Linked DNA regions of Homo sapiens: all the other regions are linked to region 1. Evidence: promoter capture Hi-C in 16 types of primary human blood cells and fetal thymus (Javierre and others, 2016). All regions are on one chromosome and are shown on one strand. The core of a region is centred on a gene start or on the middle of the fragment in contact, and the rest is flanking DNA. Distances in the headings are between cores, read along the strand shown.

Region 1 (2,988 bases), core at 298-2,797:
AGACAGGGAGCCCGCAAGCTGGGTTGGCAGAGGACGCTGGAACCTGGCTGGTCGGGGAGAAAATGTCTCCTTGGCAGCTGCAGCCACTGTCCTGTGGTCTAACTTCCCAGAGCTGGCTGGCGAGCGAGGTGTGCCTGCCGCTGGCGTCTCCCCACCCCCTTCCCCCACCCCTTTCTCTCCGCGGCTCCTGCACTCCGCAGAGCTGCCGCGACCAAAGCTACACCACCTAGCCAAAAAGAAAGAAAAGAGACAATCCCGGCTGCGCACAGGTCGGCAGGGCTCGCCCTTGGCTTCCCCGGCCGGTGACAGCCGCCCTGGCCTCTGCCACCCGCCCGACAGAGCGCGGCCCTCGGCGCCGGGGCGAGCGAGGTGGCAATTGACATTTGCACGGTTCGTCCATACAGTCCGCACGCCTGCTCCTCCAGCCCGCGGCCTCGGACCCTGGACTCCGCCAAGGGCCGTCTCCCTCTGCTCACCCCGACCCTGCCCCAGGCTCAAGGGCTAGGAAGGCGATGCCCCCAGCGGGCAAGTGGCCTCCGAAGGGAACCATGTTAACCTTGCAGTGCACACATCTGCCCACACGCCCAGTGTCACAGCCCGGCCAAGCCTGACAGCCTCCCCGCCACGGATGCCTGCCCAGCCCAACCCCGCATCCCCTCCCGGCCCCATGCCCGGACTCCTAGCCCGTCCACCCCAAACCAAGCCCAGGAAAGGGGATATGAGATTTTGCTTAAGCAAATATATCTACCTGGATCAAATTCAGGGATCCGAGCTTGGTATTCGGCTCCGACTCTCATCCCAACATCTGCAAAGCAATGCCAAAAAATATATATAAAAAATAAAAAAGAAGAAAAGAAAGAAAAAGGAAGAGACACTTAAAAAATAAAAATCGCTAGATGGAGGAAAGAAGCGGCGGGTGGATGGGAAGATATCAACTCGGGGCACTCCGGGAGATGGCAGCGGATTGGGGGCGGGGAGCGGGGGGGGGCAAAGGCGGAGGATTGGTCGAGGGCGGAGGGACGGGGGGTCGCGGGGGTGCTGCTGCACTGCACCGGGAGTTCGAGGCTACCGCAGCGCCCAGGCTCTGAGGGGAGGGAGGGCGGGAGAGCGGCGAGGGGAGGGGGCTGGGGGAGGGGAAGAGGGAGGGGGGCAGGCGGGCTGGCGGGGAGGAGTTCGAGGCTACCACCGTGCTCGTCGTCGCTGCTGCAGCCGCTCTCGGGCTCTGAGTAGTGCAGCCCGCCGTTGGTGGACGAGGCGCCGCTGCCGCCGCCGCCTGCCGGGCTCTTGGCGCTGCCGTTGGCCGATCGGTTCTTCCCCAGTAACTCGGGCCCTTTCTCCATCATGCCGGGCATGGTAGAACAGGGGAGGGGGAAAGGTGAGGGGAAGAGGCAGGCGTCAGGGTGAAGGCGGAGATGGCTTAGAGCGCGGGCGGGAGGGAAAGGAGGAGGAGGAGGAGACGGCGGCGGCGGCGGAGGAGGAGGAGGCTGTTAATATGGAGCCGCCATAACCGCCCCGCTCCGGCAGTAGCGCAGTCGCCTCACAACAACCCGCCCCGGCCCCGCCTCTCTCCCCTCCTCCCTCCGCCGCCGCCCGCCCCGCGCAGTCCCGGGCGCCCCTCGGCCGCACCGCGCTCTACGCCGCCGCCGGTATCACTCCGCTCCGCAGGGAGGTTCCGGCCGCCTGGGGGGAGGGGAAGGGGGGAGGGGCGGGGAAACCCCGCTCGCAGGCAGCCGGGCCACCCCAACCAAGCGCTAATAAAATCGCCACCGAGGCGTGGCCGCCGCTCGGGCTTTCTTCCTAGGGGGCGCTCCGGAGCGCGGGCGGGAGATGCACACGAGGGAGCGGGACTCTTTGCCCTCTCTGGGCGGAAGGAACGCGGTCACCCTGAGAAAGGACCGGCGCGACCCGACTGGGCGACCGGGGGGAGCGGCCCCCCCCCTCTGCGGACCGGGCTGCAGGCACGGGCCTGAGCGCGGCGTTCCTCAGATGTCTGGACCCGCAGGCCGCTCAGTTTCCCGGTGTCCGCTGGCAGCCTCGAGCTAGGGGCGCGCTCTGGCCCGCGGTGCAGTCGCGCAGTATAGCAGGGCGGCCTTGGGGCTCTGAGGCCCAACCGGCGAAAGAAGTAGACTCGGCCCTAACCATCTCGACGCTACAATTTTTGTTTCTGGATCTCTGAAGTAGGGCCCAGTTCCCGAGAGAGAGTCTGGGGATGACGGGATGAGTTTCCGGGGCTGAGCGATGCAACTGTTTTTTGCTGAAGCCCCTCTCCCCGATCCTAACCCTACTGTCTTATTCTTACCATCTTTCTTTCCTTTTTTTTCTTCTCTGTTTTAATAGCTGGGGAGTGAGTGCTGTGGAGTGAGGGGGAAATAAGATAAACATGAGACCTGGCCCAGTAGACGCGTTTTCAGTTCTTGCTGACCTGCGGTCTCCGCTTGGAGCGCTGGGGGAGAGGGCGGAGTCCCCCGGCAGAGGTGAAGCGAGAGCTGCTTTCTGGCAGCGTTTCCAGCCTGGAAGGAGTTGTGCTCTGTAATGCTTTTCTGAATTGCATTCGGCGAAAGGAGTAGGAAACTGCGTTTATTCCTTCACCAGATTTGAGGGCATCTGCTGCGTGCCAGGCTGCCTGGCATTGGGGGCTGTTTATGATTTTCTTTTCCTCTTTTTCTGATTTCTTCCCCCCCACTGACGAATAAGTAGAAATAAGTGAGGATTTAACTGTGAGCCTCTAGTATGCAGATGTATGCTGAGCGGTATTGGGGTTCAGCAGATACTCTCCAAACACTTGAAAATACTGTCTTGTAATAATTCTATTATGGGTCAATCCAGAGTGGATCAAACCAGAAATGAACGTCTCTGGCCAGAGCAAACCTTACTGAGAGAAATAATATATCTAACTCAGGAATTGAGCCAAGAAAACCCTGGGAAGTAAATATTTCTGAAGTGAAAAGTCTCCTGTGTGTGTACAAAACTATCTGGTTCTAGTAGTAG
Region 2 (2,988 bases), core at 253-2,752, 1.5 Mb before region 1:
ATCATGCTATTGCATTTCAGCCTGAGGGACACAGCCAGACTCAATCTAAAAAAATAAAAAAATGAAAATAAATTTTAAAAAAGCCCTTTAATGAATCTGCATTGTGCTTCAAATGCAATCCAAATTCCTTACTGACCCACCTCATCTATCCCCTGCAAACCTCCCCAGTTTTGTTTCATGCCTTTCTCTTTCTAGCTCATCAGGCTCCACTTAGCTTTTTGGCAACTGAAATGTGCCAAATTCTAGCTTGTCTGGGGGCCTGCAACCTATCTGTTTCCCTAACCAGCATACACTCACCCCCTTGCTTGGGTGGCTCCTTGTCTTTTCAGCCTTAAGTGTCAGCTCCTGGGAGGATTTCCCCCTGAAATAAAACCCCCCTTAATCCTCTATTATTAGTCTCTAGTTTCCCACGTAATGGGTAAAACAGTTTGTAACTGATTTTACGTGTGTATTATTATTTTAATTGAGACGGGGTCTCACCACATTGCCCAGGCTGGTCTCAAACTCCTGGGCTCAAGCGATCCACCCACTTCGGCCTCTCATAGTGCTAGGATTACAAGTGTGAGCAACCACACTCGGCCATGTATTTTTGTTTGTTTGTTTGCCTCTCTCCCCCATTTGTGAATTTTTTTTTTTTTTTTTTTTTGAGACAGGGTCTCACTGTTACCCAGGCTGGAGTGCAGTGGCTTGATGTCAGCTCACTGCAACCTCCACCTCCTGGGCTCCAGCGATTCTCCCACCTCAGCCTCCCGAGTAGCTGGGACCACAGGCAAACGCCACAATCACCGGCTTTTTTTTTTTTTTTGTAGGGACGAGGTTTCACCATGTTGCCCAGGCTGGTCACGATCTCCTGGACACAGGAGATGCGCAGCGCCCGCCTCGGCCTCCCAAAGTGCTGGGATTACGGGCGTGAGCCCGCGCCCGACCTCTCCCCGATTTGAACGCGTTTCGAGGACCGCTTCCCACAAAGAGTGGCATCTCAGCCAGGAGGTGAGAGCCCCGAGGGGAAAAACAGGCCAGCCAAGGGGAGTGAGGGAACGATTCCAGGAACTCAGAAGAGCAAACAAAAGCCTTGTGGAGATAGCTTACCGCTACTGAATCAGGAAAAAAAAATCGGTATGTCTGAGGTTAAATAGGGAATAGGGAAATGAGGGGCAAGGTCATATGGCCATAAACAAGGGTCTGGGCGGGGGATATGGGGTTTCGTCCCAAGGGAGGAGAGCAAAGATAACACGAGGGGAAAGGACGGGGGCCTCCCTGCTCCCTCTGGTCCCGTATCGCCCTCACATACGCGGTCAAAGTCCGGGGCGGAGAGGTGGCAGTGACAGTCCACCAAGCCTACGCCAGCCGCTCGCATTGCGCCCCGGCGGCTGCCGCTTTAGACCGGCCAGCAGAGCCGGAGCCGGAACGTTTCAGCTGCAGCGTCCTGAGTTTCCAGCCGGATGCATGCTGGTTACACCAGTGTGAACCCGCTTTTCCGCTCCCAGAGTGCCCCGCCCACAGTTCCGACGAAAAATGGCGGGGTCTCCTGAGTTGGTGGTCCTTGACCCTCCATGGGACAAGGAGCTCGCGGCTGGCACAGAGAGCCAGGCCTTGGTCTCCGCCACTCCCCGAGAAGACTTTCGGGTGCGCTGCACCTCGAAGCGGGCTGTGACCGAAATGCTACAACTGTGCGGCCGCTTCGTGCAAAAGCTCGGGGACGCTCTGCCGGAGGAGATTCGGGAGCCCGCTCTGCGAGATGCGCAGTGGGTACGGGACCAGTTAGCCAGTTCTTTACTCATCATCCTCTTACCCAACACCCAGGATCTTAGGATTCAGAAAGATCCCACGCCAGGCCTTGGCAGAATTAACGGTGCCCCAGGCTACTGTAGAACCAGTTCGAGAAACGCTAGAGGAGAAAGAAATAGATGCTAATGTCAGCTGGGTCTTATTAATTACTTAGACCAGCGCTGTCCAGTGAAAATACAAGGCAAGCTAATCTTTATGTAGTTTTAAACTAAAAGTAAGAAATAGGTGAAGTTAATGGAAATAAGACATTTTGTTTAACCCAATAAATCCAAGGTATTTTAACATGTAATAATATCAAATGAATGAGATATTTTACATTCTTTTGTTCGTACTAAGCTTTTCAAATCTGGTGTGCTGCATTTACGGCACATCTTCGAACTAGTTACATTTAAGCGCTCAGTAACTACAAAGTGGCTAGTGGCTCACCTGTTGGACAATGCAGCCGCAGACAATGAGGAATTCTCCTGGAAAGGGTAATTCTGGAAGTCAGCCATTCACCCAAGCAGCATTTGATCTTTCCTTTTGCATGTTTTATTTATTTATTTATTTTATTTTATTTTTTTTTTTTGAGACAGAGTCTCGCTCTGTCGCCCAGGCTGGAGTGCAGTGGCGCGATCTCGGCTCACTGCAAGCTCCGCCTCCTGGGTTCACGCCATTCTCCTGCCTCAGCCTCCTGAGTAGCTGGGACTCCAGGCGCCTGCCACCACGCCCGGCTAATTTTTTTGTGTTTTTAGTAGAGACAGGGTTTCACCGTGTTAGCCAGCATGGTCTCGATCTCCTGACCTCGTGATCCGCCCGCCTTGGGCTCCCAAAGTGCTGGTATTACAGGCGTGAGCCACCTCGCCCGGCCTATTAACCTTTATTTTTACTGTTTGCACTGTGGTCATTCATAACTCACAAATGTGCGGTATTATGAGCTTTTAAATTTTTTCCGCTAATATAAGTAGATTGGTGCCTGTTATAAGGAAGCACACAATCCCTTTATTTCTTGTGTTCCCAAAAAACTACCACCTTCAGGGCTTTGCAAAAATATTTAAGAAAGGCTTGGGAAATGTGGTATAGAGGCAAATGTATGATCTTAGTAAAGTTTTCAACCAACACAATTTTTTTTAACCTATTTTAGTCTTGTAAAGAAAATGTTTTCACTCTAAAACAGGCAAAAGGGGTCGGGCGCGGTGGCTCACGCCTGTAATCCCAGCA
Region 3 (2,988 bases), core at 164-2,663, 1.5 Mb after region 1:
AAAGCAAAAAGTGTTGCCAAAAATAATTTTTTAAAGTGCCTCCTGCTATTAATGTTTTTCCTAACGTCTCATGTGAGGGAGAGCAGAGAGTCAGGGATTTGGCATCTACAATAAGCAGAGGGCTTTGGGACCGATGGAAGACGTGGACAAAGACTTCTACTGTTTGAGCTTTGAAGTAACTGGTAAAACGGCTGCATTCCACTGTGGCCTGTTCATTGTCAATCCACAGGTCCTGAAATCAACTGGCTCTACACCTACCTCCTCTGGTTCACATCTTCGGTTCCACACATTTGCCTTTGCCCAAACTCTTTCTATGCAGAATGCAATCAAACCTACCAAATTTAAGGTTTATCTTGCTGTATTTTGGGAATATAGCAGGCCTAAGGCAATATTCTTAAAATTTTCCCAGTCTCCTACCCTTTTGGGGTACCTCCTCTCTCCCCATTCCATAGTATGGCTTTAATCCAATATTTTGCCTCTTTCAACTGTTTTTGTATTGGCCCAACCCCAAATTACTTTTCCATTCGTGTTGCAACGGAAGACAATTTACCATAGCCACTTCAGTGGGGATGAAGGGCCACCCAAGTCTGGAGCTTGAATGAAACCTCTTTCCACAGCTCTGCTTTTCTGGACTCCCCAAAACGTCATAAAAGTCGCAGCCAAGTTGTTGCAAATCGGGCATGTAGTTTCCTGGTCTGAGCCCCAGGGTCCCCCACACTGAAGCCCAGTGTTACAGTATGTGGGAAGAAGCACTTTTTACAGGCCTACTGCTGACATTCTAGGCAGTTAGACCCCGGGAGCCGAGGGCTCAGAGGGCATATAAACCCCAGTGAAGAGAGGAGCAAGGCGGAGGCCATACACACCTGGTGCCGGTCTGAGGTCTTCAGCTCCTGCTTCTGCGTGGTTTTCCCCTGCCTCTGATCTGCTCTCCAGAAACACCACCACCTCACCACAGAAGCACCAGCCCACAGCTCATCTCTCTGCTCTAGTAGAGGTTGCTTAGGGCTTCAGCCAATCCCCGCTGCGCTGTCATCTCAAGATCTTAATTCCAGGACGCAGATCTTCAAACCCAAGGCTGCCCTGCTCTCGTTTTTGTATTGCACAATATTGAAAGCTTGCTTTCTCTGCTAGTAGAGCTGTTTCTGCCCTGAAGGTTGGACCCTCCTCAGGAGTCTCAATAGTGCCCCAGAGCCTATGGTATCCAAAAGGCCCAGAGACATCCGGAGGTGAAGCCAGCGGAGGGAGCTGATCCTTGGGATTCTAATAGGGAGTTTGTGGTAAGTTCTCAGCATGTGAAGTTGGAAATTCAAATTTATGAAGGTCAAATGGCAAAAATAAAGGTCTGAACCAGTTCTGGCCACTTTCTTCCAATTATTTTTCCCAGATACCACAGTTTGGGGCTATACTTTTATTGGAGTTGAGGCTTTCATGGAAGAGATAGAGAGTTGAATTACCTTATTTTAGGGGAAACAATAGCTGTTAACTGAAAAAGTCTGAGACTGTTTTTCTTTAAAACTGGAAGCTAGGGGGTTGGTGGGGAGGAGGGACAAAGAAGAGAAGGGTGAGGATTGGGAGGGGTGAGAAGAAGGGAGGGAGGAAACCACAACCAAGGGAACTTCTGCTCTTGGGCTGGAGCATGGGGTGAAACTCCTCCTTGGAGACAAACCCAGAAATGTCTCTTAATATATCCCCCCTCATTCCCACAAAGCTTGCTTTGATTCAAGCTCTGGTTGTGTCTTACCTGGGATATTACAAGAGTCTCAACTCCCCCAACCCCTGCTTGGAGCCAGGGTTCTTATTGCTACAAGTTAGATAATCCTTGAACCCTCCCCCCTCTTTTTTTTTTTTCAAGACAGGGTCTTGCTCTGTTACCCCATGCAGGAGTACAGTGGTGCAGCCTGGACCTCCTGGGCTCAAGCGATCCTCCTGCCTCAGCCTCCCAAGTAGCTGTGACTATAGGTGTGTACCACCATGCATGGCTAATTTTTTTATTTTTAATAGAGATGAGGTCTCACTATGTTGCCCAGGCTGGTCTTGATCACTCAAGTGATCCTTCTGCCTTGGCCCCCCAAAGTGTTGGGATTACAGGTGTGAGACACTGCATCCAGTTGGAAATTACAGAACTTTTTAAGACACAGATCTGATCATTCACAAGTCATTTCCTCAGATAGTAATTGCATACCTTCTAAGGATGAGCCAGACATTGCTAAGTGTAGGACTTTATACCTCAATAAAGCATAGTTCCATTCTTACTCAGCTTATTACCTATAGCAGTGTTTCTCAAGCTGGGTAGCATGCATTCTAAAGGATCTCTGATTTTATATATATACATATATGGGTTTCCTTTAAAAATGGGTCCATGCATTATTCAAGTTTGAGATACCTTGTTCAACAGAAAAAGTTTAAGACCCATAATTCTAAAGACCTGTCTGAGATCCTTTCTTTGGTACTACTCTGGCATACCTTCATTTCAGCCATACTCTGCTATACCCAATTCTTTGCCATACATAGGCCTGTAATCATTCCAATTCCTTTACCTTAAACACTCTTCTACTTTCTGCTTTTTTCCCTCATCATCACTCTTGCTTCTCTACTGGTTAGCTCCTACTCATCCTTCAAGATTCAGCTAAAATGGTTTCTTTCCTTTATTTTTATTTTTTGAGACAGAATCTTGCTCCGTCACCCAGGCTGGAGTGCAGTGGCACAATCTCAGCTCACTGCAACCTCCACCTCCTGGGTTCAAGCAATTCTTGTGTCTCAGCCTCCTGAGTAGCTCGGACTTCAGGCATGCACGATTACGCTCAGCTAATTTTTGTATCTTTAGTAGAGACGGGTTTTCGCCATGTTGGCCAGGCTGGTCTTGAACTCCTGGCCTCAAGTGGTCCACCTGCCTTGGCCTCCCAAAGTGCTGGGATTATAGGCATGAGCTGCCGTGCCTGGCCAGGTTTCCTTCCTTTAAAGCCTTCCCTGTTCCACCTCAGGTGGAAT
Region 4 (2,988 bases), core at 196-2,695, 1.5 Mb after region 1:
TACCCCACCAAACAAGATTAGTTCAAGTTAAAAAGAACCTACTGGAGGTAAACTGGGAGAGCAAGTGTTGGATCTGGGCTGGTCCCTTTCCCATAAAATTAGGTCCCTGGTTGTATGTTCCCATAGCACCCCATACTTCCTCTCTCAGAATAATCATTTCCCTTGTAATGCTCAGCATCCGCATCCTGCTTGACTGCAAACTTGCTGAAGGTAGGGACTGTTTGTCTTGGACTTCGCTGCCAGTCCTTAGAACAGTGTCTGGGACACAGTGTGTTCTCAAATATTTGTTGCTGGAATAAATGAATGAACTAAATCAGTCTTTTAGGGATTTACTGTTAACCACCATGGGAAAATTAAATAAATGCGGGGAAGGAAAACGTTCTAAAATTAGAAGACTACTTTCTACTCTCAGCTTCTGATTCCCTCTGAGCTAAGAACCAGACAGCCTTAGGCTGGTAACTCCTATAAGCTGGTCCTCCTCCCATGCTGACCCCATCTTTACTGTACAATTCACTTTTCATGGACTGAAGGCACCACCAAGATAGATCCAGGAGTGACAACTCCAGTGTAGGTGTCCACTGTTCCCTTAATCTCTGTCCTGCTCCAAGTATAAATAAATTGGGGCCATTTCCTTAGATATTGGGGTTTTCTCAAGAAATCCTTTCCCTTCGTGGCATGGGTCAAATCGCTGGTAGTTAAAAAGGTGTTAACTCTTACGTGAAATAACACTTTTTCTTTGTAATGACCTGACTGGAAAGCCTCTGTGTCATCACTTCTCATTTCTTATTTGAAATCAGCAAACTGGATTCAGTAGACATGAACTTAAGCCCCATGAAAGTGGGGGTTTTGTCTGTTTTGCTCACTGCAGTACCTCCAGGGCCTAGCAGCATGACTGGCACATATTTGTTCAAAGTGAATACTCACACCTTCACACCCTCCCTAGAGAGCTGTTGTAGGCCTCTCAAATGTAGGATTTAGGGAAGTCAAGTTAAAAAAAATTAAAACGTTTCAGCACCACCCACAGGTGAGGCTATTCTGCAAAATATGTTGTCTTGAGGTATGTTTCGTCTGGACAAAACGTATTTCCACAGACACAAATCAAAGGTGTTTATTAACTGCTGTGTGCCCTGTTTCTGGATTCCCAGTCAAGTGGGACACCAGACGTCATAACACAGGGAGGACGTTCGGCGAAGCAAAATGAGGGCAGCAGCGGGAAACCAGTTTCACCAGGTTCCGCCTTTTCTCGTTTACTTCCGCCCTTCCCAGTTCCTAAGCCGACAGATGGGGCCGCGTTCAGTCTGGCCGGAAAGGGCGGGCCGCACGGTGGCCCAAACTTCCGGCGCGCAGTAAGGCTGCCTAGCTAGTGATTCTAACGCGAGGCGCGCGAGCGGCTGGATGACGTCACGGAATGGGGGGAAAGAGGGCGGCACTCGAGTGGGTGCGCATGCGCAAGAAGGTGCCTGCGGGACTGGAGCAGAGCGGGCTGCGAGGGTCTTCCCAGCGCAGGCGGGTTTTCCAGTGTTACTTGCGGCTGGGCGTGGGGGACTAGCTGCCTTTCTGGCAGCAGGCAGGAAGCCGCAAAAAGTTTCTGAGCCCCCGAACCTGTAGCGGACGTGGAAAAAGAACGTATGTGAGACAGACTTATGCCTCATTTAGCAAATCACTATAACATGCTCTGGTGTGGGGTGTGTGGATCGGAGAAATCTCATCTTCCGAGGGTCCTTGATGTCGGACAGAAAGGGAAGGCGGGGCCAGCAGAAGTTAAAATACTACCCTTCTGCAGTTCTAGTGGATTTCATTCATTCATTTTTATGTGTCAGGGTGAGATGGTTGTTAGTCCACATTCTGGTGTATATTAATCAAATTACTATTCTTATAACTATTCTCTGGCGGGAAGAGTAGGGGAGTTGTCAGTGGAAAGGATACATTTGGAACTTGGAGCTCTGTCCCAGAAGGGCTTTTGGGCGAAATGCTGTGAATTTTGCCAAACACTGCCCCGCCTCCGCCTCTGCCCCAAATTCCCTACGGTTTGAACCAGAGAACGTAATTTGCAACAGGTGAAATTTAGAATAAAAGCCAGAGGGAATATAAATCTAGCTATAAGGCTAGAAAAACACACGAATTTATGATTGAGGGAGACCAAGTCAACCAGAAAAATCAAGCAGCATCGGTGAAACTATCTTGTCTGGGCTGGGTCGCCATTTCAAAGCAGGGAGGGACAGAATAACCTTTGGAAGATACCGCGATTTAACAGGAAGGCTGTTAATAATTCCCTGCTCCTGCTTTGTTTCTAGGCCCCTCCTCAAGTGTCTGGCTGAAAGATGCCACCCAGGGAAGGGAACTCGGGCTAGCTAAGGAGGCCATTCTTGATGTTGCTTCTAGATCTCATGTCATCACCGAGCCCTCAGCTGCTGGTGGCAGCTGCTCAGCAGACCCTTGGCATGGGAAAGAGACGGAGTCCACCCCAAGCCATCTGCCTTCACTTAGCTGGAGAGGTGCTGGCTGTGGCCCGGGGACTGAAGCCAGCTGTGCTCTATGATTGCAACTGTGCAGGGGCATCAGAGCTCCAGAGCTATCTGGAGGAGCTGAAGGGGCTTGGCTTCCTGACTTTTGGACTTCACATCCTTGAGATTGGAGAAAACAGCCTGATTGTCAGTCCTGAGCATGTATGTCAGCACTTGGAGCAGGTGCTGCTTGGTACCATAGCCTTTGTGGATGTTTCCAGCTGCCAGCGTCACCCTTCTGTCTGCTCCCTGGACCAGCTTCAGGACTTGAAGGCCCTCGTGGCTGAGATCATCACACATTTGCAGGGGCTGCAGAGGGACTTATCTCTAGCAGTCTCCTACAGCAGGCTCCATTCCTCAGACTGGAATCTGTGTACTGTATTTGGGATCCTCCTGGGCTATCCTGTTCCCTATACCTTTCACCTGAACCAGGGAGATGACAACTGCTTAGCTCTGACTCCACTACGAGTATTCACTGCCCGGA
Region 5 (2,988 bases), core at 334-2,833, 1.2 Mb before region 1:
AGGACTTGGGGGCTGCAAGGACAGAACATTATTTACATGTTTATGATCTGTCTCTCCACAGTTGCATGAAAGAGCCACGAAAGCCAGGACCCAAGGGTATCTTATCCATTTCTGTATCCCAGTGCCCAGCACATTGTATTTGTTAAGCCATATTTTATATTTTATTAGCCAGTATCTCCTTCAAATGTGGGAGCCCATAATTTTCCAGTTTGGTCACACCAACAAAGACTAGAGAGGAATGACAGGGTTGGAATAGAATTCTCTGGTTCCTTCCAGCTCTAATATTCTATGATGGTGTGAACTTGTTCTATCAAGTACCATTGTATTAACACAGTAAGGAATTTAATTAGTGGTCTGCTATTGTTAATTTGTTTTGGTAAGCAACTGTTAAATGAAATGGCTGGAATCAGTGTTCCATTCATAAATTTAACAAACATTTGTCGAGTGCCTACAATGTGTTAGGCACTATATATATTGTCCCATATAACAGATTTAAGAGCAGAGGGCCTAGGATAGGGGTGAGTGGTCAGGAGAGGTGATGGGGACCTCCCATTGCTAATGCTCCAGGAGGTCCAGGGTTCTTTGATGTGGCTGGCACTATTCTGCTTATCACTGAGGAGAGAAGAGGCTCCCAGTGGCCTGAGTGGAGGGGTTACCAAGCTGCAGCTGCAAGGGACACAGAGCAGCATTCACCAAGGCACAACAAGCAGCCTCTATCTGCTTCACCACTGAGGAGCCGAGGGCCCTCACACAACAGCTGTTTCAGGCAGTGGGAGGAGAGGAAGATGTGGTCTTCAGGTCCACCCTGCCACAGGGCCAACACCAGATTTGACGCCACATCTAGCGCTTGAGGCTTCTTCTGTGGCTGAACAGCGGCTTTAGGCTTTCTCTGCACGATCCTTCCTTTCTGCTTTCATAGGCCTTGTCAGGCAGGGCAGGGTTTAGCAGTTGCATTCTAAGGCGAGGAGAGGAGGGCTCAGAGCATTGCAAGACCTAAAGGGGAGGGTCAGAGCCAGGACAAGAACCTAGGGGTACTCCTGCCCCTGGAATAATGGAGAGAACATGGGCTCCGCAGTCTACCCCTGGATGAAATAATCTTCATTTGATTACCGCTCCACCCGCATCCTTTCTGAAACAAAGTACCTCAGTTTCCTCATTTGTAAATTAGGGAGAAAAATGTCCTTCTTACAGGGTTCCTTGCAGAATCAACGGCATAATGTGAGTGAGAGCGCTTTGTAACTAACATACAAAGTGCTCTCCAGACATTTATTACCGTTTTAAACCGCCAGGCCAAGCTTCCTCTTGCAATTATAGATTAGGGGCTCCTACTCATCTGACTTTGTTCCACTTTCCACTCCTCTTCTCCGTCCCTCCCCCTCCAACAAAGAGAGGAAGTGAGAGACGCAGAGGCACGCGTCTAAGGACCAGCTTAGCTGGCCCAGGGTCACATGCAGGCCTCCGCCACAGGGGTGAGAGCTGGTGTGAGGGGCGCCCCCGCCCAGAACTACATTTCCCATCAACACTTTCGCGACTCCTGGGCGGCAGCGGCCAGGCGCATGCGCCGAGTATCGCCACGCCTGGTCTCTGGGACGCCCCTCCGGACCGGTTTCGCCTCGCGGAGCCGGTAGGTCCAGGTGCAGCGGCCGCAGTGCTGCGTCCGTGCGCCGCGGGCTGGGGCGGTCTCAGGTGTGCCGAAGCTCTGGTCAGTGCCATGATCCGGCAGGAGCGCTCCACATCCTACCAGGAGGTACGAGGTTGTGAGAGACGGAAGGGAAGTTTGAGGCGGAGGAGCAGGGTCCCGGGGGCCTGGGCGGATGCGGGGCGGGGGGTGTCGGGGCTGCGCGGCAGAGGGCTCTTCCGAGGGACCGACGGGTGCGTCAGGGGAGGGCTCCCGGGGTGCAGAGGAGCGGCCCAGGGGCAGGAAGGAAGCGGGGCAGCGGAGCGGGCGCCCAGCGTTCTCCGTATGCTGCGGGTTGCATGGCCGAGGTCCGGAGTAGGGTCCCCGGCGCCGCGACCCGTAACCAGCAGGTGAATGATTGAAGCTACCTGAGGCCCAGCCTTCCGCGCTCCCCGCCGGAGCGGCAGCCCAATGGCCCAGAGGAACCCGGCGTTCTTTGCAACAAGTGGAGCGCCCGCGCCCTCCTCCCGGCGAGATCTGATGCGCGGTCGGCATCGTCGGCATCCTCCCCCTCCAAGCCCAAGGCCTCGCTGTCCCCGCGGCTGGTGACAGGATTGATTACCTGTTTTTTGGTGACCACCTAACTTTGAAAAAGTGCCTTCATGGACTCTGCTAGTTCTCGCTCCTCTTCGTCTCTCCCTCCAGTCTCACCTCCTCCCACGACTTTATCACTTTCCAGTTCTTTGTCTCTTCTCTGTCCTGCGCTGCAGGCTGTGCGTCCAGCGCTTCCTTCAAGCAAGCCCTGCCTCCTCACTTCTCCAGCTGTATTAGTGAAACTGCTCTCCTCCTCCGCCTCCACTTCTCGGCCCCCAAACCTTGGTCATCTTTGGCAACCGTCCTCTTCTGTGCCCCTCCATCGTGCCGCCTCATTGGCCAAAGTCAGGCAGTTCCAGGTCGGTCCTCCTCCAGTTTGTGTCCCTGTGTTTGCTGTAACCTCTGAGTGCGATACTGTGTTACCATCGCTCCCTTTAGTCTCTTATACTCTCCAGATTTGCCTTGAGGCCCTGCCTTCACCTCGGAGCATTCCTTTTTTCTCAGACCTGACGCTGCCCTTCGTCTGCCCAGAACAGTCCAGACTTCTCAGCAGGCTCCCAAAGCTCTGAACAGCACAGCAGCCATGTCTCCCATTACCTTTGCCACCTCCTAACCCACCTAGGGTCTGGCACAGTGGAAACTCAGTTTTAAAATGTGCTCCTGCCTCTGTGCGTGTGCTCACTCCATTCCTTCATCAACGCTCCGCCAAGCTCCATTGGGTAAAATGCCCCCAGAAGTCAAGGGCTACCTCAAGTTCCATGTGTTCCATAGGGGTC
Region 6 (2,988 bases), core at 313-2,812, 1.0 Mb after region 1:
CCTAAAGAGCACGAAGGGGTGCTCCGATGCCCGAGCCCTGGTGCCCAAGGTGTGTGTGTGTGTGGCGGTTGCGGGGGTGGGGTCCGAGGTTTGGAGGGCCGACCTCTTGAAGGCGGGCGGCAGCCACCAACCACATCCTGGCTCCCGCACAGACACACCCCCGGGGTGTCGGTGCCGCAGCCCTCAGCCCCTCCCCGGGTAGCCAGCAGCGCCCGGTCGGCCGCTGGCCGCAGGAGAAAGTAAACAACACCCCAAGTGTCCGGGAACAAAGGCAAGTTGTCTTTCTACGGTGCCGCAGCCGTGTGCCTCTTCTGAAGAATAAGAGCTATTATTATTCTTTATGTCTTATCCTTTTTTTTTTTTAAAAAAAAAACCAAGTTTCCTTCTAAGGGAAATAAACACCAAAGGTAGGATTCCAAGGAAATGACTCACAGCGGCTGGCAGGGCTCTGGCGGGGCTGGCCCGGGCCCCCGCGCTCCAGCCCGCAGCAGATGTCGGCCCGGCCTTCCCTCCCTCCCTTGCCGGCCAAACCCGCTGGAAGCCCGCGGTTGCGGGAGCGCCCTGCGCCCGTGGGACCTGGCGGCGAGGACGCCTATTCCCTGCTTCTGCGACCACAGCTGGGCACTCGGAAAGTTGCTAGGGCCGAAGAGGCGGGAGGGGAGGAAGGGAAGCGAGAGGCGGAGGCGTGGACCAGGCGGGCAGCAGCCTCAGCCCGCCGAGGAGGTGAGCTGAGGACAGAGGAGCCGCCGCCGCCCGCAGCGCAGCTCTGCTGCCTGGGAGGAGGGTGCGGGGGCGGAGGTGGCGGGGGACAGAAGGTGTCAGCTACTGCATCAATTCCTTTTTCTTGCAAACGCGCGCTCCTGACATCCACAATCCCTCTCTCCCCACCTGCCAAGCGCCGCGGCATCCGGACCTGGGGGCACCCCTCCTACTTAACCCCTTCCCCTACGATGAGGGACTAAGCGGCCACGGAGGACCATGAGGTCTCACCAGAGCTTCTGACCCCACCCGCCCCTGGAGTTGTCTCGGTGCGCGCGGGTGGCAGCCCGAGCAGCCCTAGAGGAGGCGGCGGTTCCCGCCCTGGTGAAGGCGCCGCGGCGCACGCTAGCCCAGGGAAAAGCCCGCGCCGCCTCCGCGCCCAGCTGTGCCTTGGCCCCCACGCCGCCCCGACTCCGCTCCGGCCGCTGCGAGTCCACTCGGTGACCTCGGCACAGCCCTGGTGCCAAGAGGGCGCGCGGGAGGCCGCGTGGGTGCCCGTCTGCGAGGGCAGGAGCCCCGGGGGGCCCTCGCCCTCCACCCTGCCCGGCCCTCCCGCCCCCGCGGCCCGCGCCCAGCCCGGCTCTTACCGCGGGGTCAGCGGGGAGGCGGCGGCCGCAGCGCTTGAGCTGCTGCTGGTCCGCTCTGGGCTCGGCGCCAGCCCGGCCGCCGGTGCACACTCGCGGGTCCCGGCCCGGCCGCCCGCTCGGCGGTGACTGCGGGTGCGCGGCGGGCAAGGGTCCCGGCAGGTCCCGCCGCCGCGACTGGGGCGCTGCGCCGCCGTCGCTGCAGACGGTTATGGTAATGAGCGGCTCTGTCTAGCGAGGAGCGTGTGAAACCCGTCAATCCTGTTTGCCATTTCCCCGTGGATTTCCGAGGAGAGGTTCTGCAGGATGCCCCCAGGGTGAGAGAGGGAACATGACAAGCGCGCCCGCTCTCCCTCCCTCCCTCTGCTCAGGCCGCCGCCGCCGCTCCTCAGGCTGCACACGGGGCGCCTTTCCCGCACCCCCACCCCAGCCCGCCCCCTGCCTCCTTCCCTGCTTCCCGCCCTCCCTCCTCCTTTTCCTCCCCTCCCCTCCCGGTGCCCGGGGACACGCGGGCCCAGCTCCAGCCCGCAGCCCAGACCCCACGCGCTCTCGGGCTCCCGCCCTAGCCCTGGGGGCTTGGCTCCAGCCGAATAATGTATTCACTCTGGAACCTTCCGAGATATCTTGTCTTTTTAAATTTGGTTTAGTTTTGTTGTTGTTGTGTGTGCGTGTGATTAAAAAAAAAATCTGTGCCTTTCCCACCCTTTGCAAAAGACTTTCTTCTCCTTTGCCACAGCAAACGGAGATGAGAAACAGATGTCTTTGCAGGACCAAACAGTTATTCTCCCTCGCCGCCCGCCCCCGCCCGTTTCCCTCCTGAGCTGCGTACGTATTAAAAAAAAAAAAAAAAGCAACCTTGGTCCTGCTGCAACTTGAATTGGCAACCCTTTCTGGGTGGGGAGCCTCCAGGGAAAACCTCCAGGAAATAAAAAGTAATACAAGAGATTGTCCTTGCTCAAGAGAATGTAATTTAAGCCTTGGAATCAGAATATTTTGCAAATAGTAATTTTCTCCTATAGTGGCCTCAGAGTTTATTTTTTAAAATCATTAATTCATAACTTCTGTCTAGGGACCCCTCCATAGTCGAGATGGGTCATTTCAGGTGTAATGAAGGCAGAGGCTTGGAAGGCATAGACCTAATAAAATCGGGAGAAGGCACCTGCACAAAAGTGTTACAAAGACTATAATGTTTGTTTACTGCCACTATACCAGATGTGCTAAATATAACACTTCTTTAAAACAGTGATCCTCCGACTGTGAAAAACCAGACCTCTGGCTGCCTGGCTCCCTAGGAATCAAGAAGACGCACAGACTGAAAATCAAGGGAGGAAGGAACAAGATCAAGGATGAGGATTAGCATCTGCAAATTGAACTCTATCTAATTTGCATGTTTATTTCTTAGAATTGTAATTAAATTTGTGTAATAAATGTTTTCCATTTCATTTGTACACTTAAAACTTGGGTGACTGACATGCAGTTAAGTGAATTTCCTTTTTTTAAAAGCAAATGTAGATTATTCAATAAAGCAGCAAACCAATATTAAACATAATTAGAACTAATTTGTTTTGAAGGTGTTTTTGTTGAACTTTGTACATTAAAGACTCTCAGAGGTTTTAAGGGTATTAGGAAGCTGAGAGATGGCAAT
Region 7 (2,988 bases), core at 272-2,771, 1.0 Mb before region 1:
GGATACCATTTAAAGCTAACGATCCTGTGAATAAGATACTACACTGGTCAAATTTTAGGCTTTTTCTTTATAAATACATCCAAAGGCCAGCTAACTCTTAACCGTTGTTTGCATTCGGATTCCTGGTCTGATGACTCTTAGGGGCAATCAATGGGAAGTGAAGTTGAGAAGAAGGTGGGTGCAGACGGCTTTATAACTGTAAAAGTAAAGGACTAGCTAAAAGTGGCCGAACAGAGGAGCTGACACTCGGGAAAGTGAAGGTCGGGGAAGGTTCGTGCGGTTGTTAAAGCAAGACCGGGAAAGGGCAAACCTGGAAGAGGAGTGAAGGACTCTACTTCACGGGACGCAAGATAGGAAGTGCAGGTTAAGCAAGCGCGCAGGTGGGGAAGGGTGTTGGCCTCCCCTAGGATGGAAAGAGTTCAGGTGGGAATTAGAAGGAAACAGCCAAGACTTCACAGAAAACCTGTTTGAATAAGGAGGAGGGCGTGAGGTGACGCCAAGGCATTGTGGGGAACTCGGCTCACACACTACCAGTCCCAACTGAGCAGGAGAAACCCAGCAGGAAATGGCTCTGCTGGCGCAGAGGCAAGCGTTGCCAGCCCCTGCGCTCGCTGCTGGGGCTGCGCCCTCGGAGGTTACCTTTGAGCTGGGGCAGCGGGTGCAGCTCTGCCTGGCTGCCCTGGCTGCGAAACTGCGACGAGCCCTGGGAGCGCTTCTGCCTCTGCGCCTTGCGGACCGATTTCCGGGTGAAGCCGTCCACTTTCTCCGAGGCCGAGATGGCGGCGCTGGCAGCCCCCGCCGGCGGCGACGACGACGACATCTCCGCGGCCCTGACGCTTGGCAGCTCCGGCTGCTGCTTGCAAGGCACGGGCAGCGGCGGAGACGGCAGGAGGAGGCGGGGGAGAGGCGCGGGGTGCTCGCGCCCCTGCGCCCCGGCCCCACGGCCCTCCGGCCCCGGGACGCCGCCGAGCTTCTCCTCGCCGCCCGCCAACGCCTCACGGCCACATCTCAGCGCTGGAGGTTCCTGGTCCCCGGCGCGCGGCGAGCTCCCGGGGCTGACGGAGGGAAGGGCGGGGGCGGAGGGGGGTGAAGAAGTTGTTGACTCTGGGCGCGCAGAGCGGGTGGAAGAGAGCCCGAAGTTTAGACAACTGAGGCGGGGGCACGGGGGTGCGGGTGCCGAGCGCGCCTCTCGTCGCTTCTGCCCCCGTCGCCAGCCAGCCGGCCGGCCAGCACCTCAGCGGCCGCTGCCAGCGCAGCCCGCCCTGCCTGGAGCCTCCTCTCAGGGCGCTGCCATCGCGGGTCCCCTCGGAGCCACTGCCGCGGTGCCCGCTCTTCCCGGTCAACGCCGGCCCCTCATCGCCCGGGGCGCTGCCCCGTAGCCCCGGCCCTCTGCGTGCACACACTCGCTCCTTGCCGCGCTGGGCGGCCCGAACCCCCTCCCCCACGCGCCCGTCGGCCGCCCACGGAGAACCCCAGGCGAGCGACCGCTACAACTTGAGAAGGTGGTTGGTACAGGCGACTGGGGAGTGTGTGCGCGTGTGCGCGCGCCAGGGCGCGCGGCCCGGGGAGGGGCCTCGCAAGGGGTGGGAAGGAGGAGTTTGACTGACAACTTCCGCGGGGTCCCGCCCGCCTCTTGGTGCGGCGGCGGGGGAGGGGGCGGGAAAGCATGCCAGCCCTCTTAGCCAATCACACGGCTAAGCGGCAGCGACGGCGTGAGGTGCGGCCTCTTGAGGCAGAGGAGTGGGGCGGGCTGTGTGACGGGCTTCGGCCACAGCCAATCGTAAGTGAAGACGGCGAGCGGGGTGCCCCTGCGTCAGAACAAATGCGGCAAATCGCTTGGGAGGGAGGGGAAGCGCTCCTCCACCAGCGGGCATTTTTGCGCTCACGCGCGACTGCTCCAGGCTGTCATTGCTCTCCTGACCGTCTACGAGAAGACTGGGAAACTTGAGAGGGTGCGTTCAGAGAGCAAAATAGAGCGCCCCTTCCCTTCCCTCACCTCTCTGCTGGCCAATGAAGAACTGAAGCGATTGGTGGGGCGCCGGAGGGCTGGGGCGCGAAAGAGCGCCAGGTGTTACACCACTGAAAGGGGGCGCAGCAGAGGTCAGGTGGCGAGCAAGCAGTGTGATTGACGGGCGAGGGGCCCGGGGAAGGCGAGAAGGTGAGCTCGTCCAATCGTTGCGAGGTCTGGACACCTGGGCGGGTCTTGGCGCCTTACTGGCCCCAAACCGCAAAATTGGTAGTTGCGGAATAAATTTGTAGCTCTTGGGAGGTTCGGACTCCGCAACTCCAGAGAGCTACTCTCGCGTGGGGTTTGGGCAGTCTAGCATCTGCTGCTTCAAAGAGTTCTGCAAGTCCACGCCCTCTAAAAAGAGATTTCTCATTCCCAATTTAGTATCCTGCTAATTTTCACCCCTCCTTGAGCCAAAGGCCCTCAACTACTCCAACGAGAAGAGTACAAATTCATTGGTCAGTGGTGTGTGGATATGGAGGCTTGCCATGTACTCTTACCGGAATCTCTTTCTTGGAGATTCCGTCTAGATTTTGAATTTCTTAAGGACGAGGACTGGTCATCTTAGTTTTTCGTGCAGTGCTTTCCATACGGTGGCCGTTAATAATTATTAATCTGAACAGTCAGCCTCCCTTTGCGCCAATGGACCCAAATCTGTAATCCCCTCCCTCGAGCTCCAGACCTTTTCCTTTCAACATAATAAAAGTAATTGTCGTATATTTAAACGAAGCCACCTGATGCATATGTACAGAAGATTCCAAATTTGGCAGGAAGTTGAATTCTAGACCTAGAACCAAACATACTATCCTCAAAACATTTCCTCCTTCAGATTTGCTGGGCGGTGAAATTGTACATAATCCTCCCAGTCAAGGAGGTTCAAACCTCAGCAGCGTTTCTGACACTTTTCGCTTTCTCACATAGTCAAGCTCCAGATCATGTTAAATCTACTTTCACAATTGGCGTTTCTCCCAATGTGTACA

Evidence for each region. Contacts are between HindIII fragments. The CHiCAGO score rates a contact against its expected background, and 5 or more counts as called.
Region 2: the fragment with the promoter of NSL1 here is called in contact with the fragment with the promoter of RCOR3 in region 1 in 1 of 17 cell types (total B cells); the score reaches 5.1 in total B cells.
Region 3: a contact is called between a fragment that was not itself captured here and the fragment with the promoter of RCOR3 in region 1, in 1 of 17 cell types (fetal thymus). The highest score is 5.7, in fetal thymus.
Region 4: the fragment with the promoter of C1orf74 here is called in contact with the fragment with the promoter of RCOR3 in region 1 in 4 of 17 cell types (erythroblasts, total B cells, total CD4 T cells and 1 more); the score reaches 5.7 in erythroblasts.
Region 5: the fragment with the promoter of PACC1 here is called in contact with the fragment with the promoter of RCOR3 in region 1 in 1 of 17 cell types (fetal thymus); the score reaches 6.4 in fetal thymus.
Region 6: a contact is called between the fragment with the promoter of SERTAD4 here and the fragment with the promoter of RCOR3 in region 1, in 2 of 17 cell types (endothelial precursors and M1 macrophages). The highest score is 6.1, in endothelial precursors.
Region 7: the fragment with the promoter of PPP2R5A here is called in contact with the fragment with the promoter of RCOR3 in region 1 in 2 of 17 cell types (naive CD8 T cells and fetal thymus); the score reaches 7.4 in naive CD8 T cells.

The regions. Positions count from the first base shown.
Region 1 is chr1:211,257,925-211,260,912 of GRCh38, reverse strand. It overlaps RCOR3 (REST corepressor 3), which reads right to left and starts at 1,547. Exons shown (of 12, transcript NM_001136223.3): 1 at 1,187-1,547; 2 at 749-805. The coding sequence starts at 1,352. It overlaps LOC105372902 (a long non-coding RNA gene), which reads left to right and starts at 1,721. Exons shown (of 2, transcript XR_922552.3): 1 at 1,721-2,177; 2 at 2,338-2,988. RefSeq lists silencers at 969-1,268, 1,339-2,128 and enhancers at 831-1,330, 1,833-2,334, 2,609-2,728. The HindIII fragment of the contact is 7,419 bases long and covers 1-2,988 here.
Region 2 is chr1:212,790,291-212,793,278 of GRCh38, reverse strand. It overlaps NSL1 (NSL1 component of MIS12 kinetochore complex), which reads left to right and starts at 1,502. Exons shown (of 6, transcript NM_015471.4): 1 at 1,502-1,749. The coding sequence starts at 1,516. TATDN3 (TatD DNase domain containing 3) reads right to left here and starts at 1,385. Exons shown (of 10, transcript NM_001042552.3): 1 at 1,292-1,385. The coding sequence starts at 1,357. RefSeq lists enhancers at 1,297-1,576, 2,051-2,829. The HindIII fragment of the contact is 10,286 bases long and covers 1-2,126 here.
Region 3 is chr1:209,766,536-209,769,523 of GRCh38, reverse strand. The region is part of intron 8 of TRAF3IP3 (TRAF3 interacting protein 3); the gene reads right to left. Among named protein-coding and RNA genes, the nearest start is that of TRAF3IP3, 12 kb to the right of the region's middle. RefSeq lists enhancers at 1-68, 79-128. The HindIII fragment of the contact is 594 bases long and covers 1,117-1,710 here.
Region 4 is chr1:209,783,016-209,786,003 of GRCh38, reverse strand. C1orf74 (chromosome 1 open reading frame 74) reads left to right here and starts at 1,445. Exons shown (of 2, transcript NM_152485.4): 1 at 1,445-1,626; 2 at 2,295-2,988. The coding sequence starts at 2,370. It overlaps IRF6 (interferon regulatory factor 6), which reads left to right. Exons shown (of 9, transcript NM_006147.4): 9 at 1-387. RefSeq lists enhancers at 507-1,122, 1,307-1,566, 1,123-1,740. The HindIII fragment of the contact is 4,418 bases long and covers 1-2,988 here.
Region 5 is chr1:212,413,481-212,416,468 of GRCh38, reverse strand. PACC1 (proton activated chloride channel 1) reads left to right here and starts at 1,583. Exons shown (of 8, transcript NM_018252.3): 1 at 1,583-1,747. The coding sequence starts at 1,712. RefSeq lists a silencer at 1,872-1,931. The HindIII fragment of the contact is 5,506 bases long and covers 1,298-2,988 here.
Region 6 is chr1:210,231,370-210,234,357 of GRCh38, reverse strand. SERTAD4 (SERTA domain containing 4) reads right to left here and starts at 1,562. Exons shown (of 4, transcript NM_019605.5): 1 at 1,347-1,562. SERTAD4-AS1 (SERTAD4 antisense RNA 1) reads left to right here and starts at 473. Exons shown (of 2, transcript NR_024337.2): 1 at 473-723; 2 at 2,587-2,902. RefSeq lists an enhancer at 1,151-1,684. The HindIII fragment of the contact is 4,360 bases long and covers 1-2,988 here.
Region 7 is chr1:212,283,943-212,286,930 of GRCh38, reverse strand. PPP2R5A (protein phosphatase 2 regulatory subunit B'alpha) reads right to left here and starts at 1,521. Exons shown (of 13, transcript NM_006243.4): 1 at 640-1,521. The coding sequence starts at 820. It overlaps LINC02608 (long intergenic non-protein coding RNA 2608), which reads left to right and starts at 1,910. Exons shown (of 4, transcript NR_125984.1): 1 at 1,910-1,952. RefSeq lists a silencer at 789-1,758 and an enhancer at 1,929-2,008. The HindIII fragment of the contact is 5,039 bases long and covers 1-2,988 here.